Linked DNA regions of Homo sapiens: region 1 is linked to region 2. Evidence: promoter capture Hi-C in human tissues and cell types (Jung and others, 2019). All regions are on one chromosome and are shown on one strand. The core of a region is centred on a gene start or on the middle of the fragment in contact, and the rest is flanking DNA. Distances in the headings are between cores, read along the strand shown.

Region 1 (2,700 bases), core at 191-2,690, 40 kb before region 2:
CTAATTCTTAGTCATGTGCTATTTCTGCTTAAGAAAAAGGAAAATGTTTTAGTAACCAAAAAATAAAATAAATTACACACAGCAAATATCTAAGAACAAAGGTTATACAGTCAGATCTTTTGATAGTAAGTAAAACTGATAACCAAGTAGCTCTGCAGACCTATTTGCAGCTCTTCTTTAACCAAGGGACAGAAAAATAGAAGAGCTCATCTAAGAAAACCCAATGTCTAGAGATGAATTGGATTTTGTTGCCACTAAGCTGGTTTACAAGAAATGCAGTAATCTGATGCTCTGAAGCCAAGTTTCTTAATAATGAATGTATGAGCATTTGGAAGAGTACAGAAAACATATCATAGGCCAGACCTTGAGTGCTTAGTGGAGGTCATATAATTAACACAAATGGCTTTGAGAGTCTAGGAAAAGCATAGAGATCATCTCTCCTTGTGTACAAAGCACACAAGCTTCTCTAACCTAATTAGGTAACCAAATCCTTCAAAACAAAGGGTTTTCAAATTATTCTAAAAAATTGCTGCTGCCTCCAGATTCATTCCCTGTAGTCCCCCAAGTCTCATTTTCCCCCACCTGCTGGTTCTCAGCATACTGCCTGATCATAGACATATTCTGCTGGCACAATTGCCCTCACATTGTGTTGTATGCCCATGCAGTTCATCAGATTTAAATAAAATAAAATACAATTGCAGTTACAGGTAGGATTGTTTCATGTGATTTCTAGAACAGAATTTTTTTAAAAAACAGTATTGTTTTGTGATCCACACAGATCTCTTGGAATATTGTAGAAAACACTAGGAGAATTAATTACAGAGTGTTTTCTCACTCATTGTAAAATTTTTTTCCCTACTGTGGAATGTTACATTAATGAAAGCTATTGTAAACAATGAATCTGTGGTTAACACAATTTACTGAAACTGTCTTCTGAAGAACTGTGTTGAGAAAATTGAGTGCTTGGTATAAATCAAGTGATTTGCTTTGGATTTCCTTAATATTCTTTTTTAGCTTGTGGTTTTCAATCCAAAGAGCCAACATTTGCCATAGACTCTTAAATGTCCCTTAAGCATGTATTCAAAAAGCAATGTGAGAAACAGGTTTTATGCAACTTCTGCATTGAATATTTTATTTTACAATAAATATATTGGAGCTTTCAAGTACTAATTTGATTACATTTCTAAAAATTGTGTAACTAGTTAACTCTTCCACTAACTAAAGTTGAAATCAACTATGATAAAATGCAAAAGTCCTTTATCTCTGACCCAAAAGTCTTGTGTCTTCTGCCAGCATTCATGAAACTATGGCAGGTTAATTTGTTAGCTTGCTGGTAAGGTCAATTCTCAGATCCTTCACAGTCCTTGACAACCCTTAGTGAATTATTCTAATATAGCAACCCATTGAGACTTAGACTAATACAGTTATGTTTTCCCTTCCCAGTTCTCCAAATCAGAAATATGTATTAGTAAACACAACCAAAATCTCGCTTTTTCTCATTTTATCTATCACCTCTTTCCTATGAAATGAGGTAATGCTTGTATATATTCATATACATTGTATTATTACAAAACGACATATAATTCAATTTACCAGGCTAATATGATCCAGTCCTTTGAAAAATTTCTAAAATCATATGTATTCCCTAAGACAAAACTAAGCTACAAAGTACATAATCACTGTCCTCTCTAGTACAAAGGCTAGGAAAGACGCAGAGATGAATCAAAATGATGCTAGACTAAATTTCTTGAACCACGCTCTAATCACATTCCTCACTTTCTCAAAAAAAAAATTTTTTTTTTTTTGAGCCAGAGTCTCACTCTGTCACCCAGGCAGGAGTGCAGTGGCGCGATCTCAGCTCACTGCAACCTCCACCTCCCAGGTTCAAGCAATTCTCCTGCCTCAGCCTCTCAAGTAGCTGGGATTACAGGCATGTATCACCACGTCTGGCTTTTTGTTGTTGTTGTTTTTTGTATTTTTAGTAGAGATGGGTTTTACCATGTTGACCAGACTGGTCTTAAACTCCCAACCTCAGTTGATCCACCTGCCTCAGCCTCCCAAAGTGCTGGGATTACAGGTGTGAGCCACCATGCCTGGCCTCAGAAATCTTTAATGGTTCTCTACTGACAGCTTCTCACTAATAAAGCCTTTTATAATTTGATTTCAATTTATATTTTAAAATTTATTTCCCATTACTCTCTTTGTACAATCTATAATTTAGTCAAATATAACCATTACAAAGCATGGAACTATCCCATACTTTGTATTTTATTTATTTTATTGAGATAATAATTCACTTACCAGAATATTCAGCTTTTTAGAGTACACAAGTCAGTGGTTTTTAACATATTCAGTCTTACAATCTTACCACTATCTAATTTCATAACATTTTTTATTACACTAAAATTAAGTCCTGTACCCTCTAGTAGTCACTCTCCCATCCATCCTCCCCCATAGTCCCTGACAACCACTAATACTCTCTCTGTGTTTATGGATTTGCTTATTCTGAACATTTCTTATAAATGGAATTATACAATGTGTGGCCTTTATGGCTTCTTTCACATAGCATAACGTTTTAATGTTCCTCTGTGCTGTAGCATGAATCAGTACTTCATTCTTTTATATGACTGAATAATATTTCATCAATGAGTACACCATATTTTATTTTTCCATCAGTTGATGAAAATTTTTTTTCTACTT
Region 2 (2,700 bases), core at 68-2,567:
ACCATCTTAACCATGTTATTAATCTTTAATCTGATTTATAACTGAAAAGCTCATGTGGTAACTGATTGTATGCGATTTCATTCACAAAAAGAGAAGATTATCCATCAAACAGGCATATTTTTCTTCGGATTTCATAGAATAAATGAGCTAGACACATTTTTCTTTCAAATCCCAGGCTATCCAAAATATTTCTAGATAATCAGAAAGGCATGAAACAGCAAATTAAGTTATATTAAGGCAGTTCTCATTATTTTGCATTTTTGACAAATCTGACAAGTTGAAAAAAACAATTTGAATAAAGGCAATATTGGAAAAAGAAACATACCTTAGAGATGATTAATGGTTCTCCGTGCTCCAGGCCACCCTTTAGAGTAAAACCCCAGGGAGCTCCTCCCTCCAGGAATGCCTCCAGATAAATGTACCTTCCCTTGGTGGCCGTGTTAGAGTTTAATGTGGCACTAGGCTTGTGGAAGTCTTCAGTGGTCCTCATCATGCCAAACACATGATCCCTCAAGTTAAATTTAAAATGCCTGAAGCAAACTCAGGCAAGCAGTGCTTCTACAGCACAAGTTGTCCCATCCTTCAGGACACACAATGGCCAAAAGAGAGGTTTGGAGAAGCAAATTCTTCCATACGTAAAATGTTCTTCCAAGCTGAACTCCAAGATGCTGAACCAGAAGGAATTTTCACTTCAACATTTCTGAATGTAAATCCTCCTCCAGGAATTCTGGGTTCTCACTGAAGCCCCCAAGTGGTATACATCTCTACTCCGTTCGTCAAAACTTCCTTCAGTGGCGCTCTGAAGATTGCTTTTCTGAGCTTTTATTTCACACATACACACACTAAAACCATTTCTGCCTATTTTACAGAGAAAATTAAAAGCATCTTACAATATAGTAAGAAAATCACAAATACTCAAAGGAATACCTCATTTTTGATTGATTATCAACCCTTTCTTCCTCTCGGAGTGAAATTTACCATTACAATAGCCTCCTCCCTCCCCAGAAGTAGCTTAAAAAGAAAGAAAGCACTTACTATGCTTCGGCTCACTTCAGAATTTTCTAACTTGTCCCGAAGAGACAGAGAAGCTGTGCTAAAACTTTTTACTTCTTTTTTTCAACAATCAGTTCATAGTTTGTTTCTTAGGAGAGAAAAAAACTTTTGCAGGATGTAGAGAAAATGAAAAAGCACGGTAAATTAATCCTCAATGGAAAAAATATGAAGGAGGCAGCTCAGTTCTTTTCTTTGGTATTTTCAGTGATGATCAGCCACTGCTGCGGCCGCCACAGCCACTTGCCTCCTCTTGAGAGAAAGAGTAAGGAAGTTAGAGGAACATGGATTAAGGCAAAGTGAGGCATTGCAACCTTTCTGCACAGTAAGCACTGCCATGCAGAATTCAGCTCACCACAAAGACCTGACAATTCAAACAGTCTTACAGTTAATAACACGTAGGAAGTTAAAAATACTATACAGATGGCTAATTGCCAAGGGATAGAAAATAGTTCCTAGAATAGCCCCGCCTCGTACCAATTAAAGGAGAATTTCAGGGAGTGAGACATAGGCATTTGTGTTTTTAAAAACCCTCCAGGCAATTCTGCTATGCAGCCAAGTTTGAGAAGCAATGCCTAAGTGATTTGGGTAAACGTTTAAGTACATGTCAAGGTGGTGGCACAAGGGCTTTTTTTTTTTCGTTAGAAGAAAATACTACCAGTGTAATATATGAAATGGGACTTTCCAATCAAAGTTCTGCTTGTTTGACTCAATAAAAACAGGAGGTGGGTTTTTTTTTCTAGGTTTTCATTGTTATCTACTCCAAGATTGTTATCCACTCTTTAAATGAAAAGAAATCTACAATGCCTTGTGGGTAAGTACTAGGTACTCGGGAAAGAATGTTGTTCTGATTTCATGTTACCAGTGTCATTTTGTAATAATGTTATATACAAATTTAACATTCATGCTTTGTATTAAAAATTTGAACAGTAGAAGATAACCATATCTAACCCAGAAGCCTCAGCTATTTAGTTATTGGAACAGATTAGAATTACTTCCAGGTAATATATGTACTAAAACTTTTTTCTGTTTAAAAGTATGGGATAATGAGAATTAAGTTGAAAACTGAAGTTAAAAACTACTGTGGGGCTTGATAACAATTATTTTGGTGTTTGTACTTATAATTAATGAAAGGCTGATATGGAAAGGCAGGTATATGATATCAAACTACACGATATTTAATTTACAACACTGGACAGGTATTGTTTGATTTTCAATGGTAACTTCACTTGAAGGGCTCAAAGACAAAAAAAAAAAAAAAAAAGTAAAACCTTATGTAATGGTAGTATGTGAATGGAAACATAAGGAAACCTAAGGTGTACCAAATGAAAGTATGTGGTAAAAATTGGCTGATTCTTAAGGGTAATTTACGCAATTTCTATTGTGGTTTTCTTTTACAGCTTAATTTGTAAGTTAGAATAAATGGAGAAACATTAGCTTTTCTTTCATTTCAAAGAACATATGTATTTTAAATAAAAGTCCTAGGTAAATGAACAGCTTTCTTTCTGAAAAAATTAATTTATGAGGCTCTTATTATGTTACTCCTAATACATTTTGTAAAAACTGGGATTTTACAGAATCCACATTTAATATTAAAAGTAACATAGCTATACAAAATTTCAGTTAGGAGGCATAAGCTCAAGAGATCTA

The links. Contacts are between HindIII fragments. The study calls those that stand out against the background at their distance.
Region 1: a fragment that was not itself captured here is called in contact with the fragment with the promoter of SHROOM3 in region 2 in 3 of the 25 tissues and cell types used here (aorta, stomach and thymus).

What each region holds. Positions count from the first base shown.
Region 1 is chr4:76,474,032-76,476,731 of GRCh38, reverse strand. All of the region lies in intron 1 of SHROOM3 (shroom family member 3), which reads right to left. Among named protein-coding and RNA genes, the nearest start is that of SHROOM3, 40 kb to the right of the region's middle. The HindIII fragment of the contact is 4,247 bases long and covers 1-2,700 here.
Region 2 is chr4:76,433,846-76,436,545 of GRCh38, reverse strand. SHROOM3 (shroom family member 3) reads right to left here and starts at 1,317. Exons shown (of 11, transcript NM_020859.4): 1 at 326-1,317. The coding sequence starts at 493. The HindIII fragment of the contact is 12,167 bases long and covers 1-2,700 here.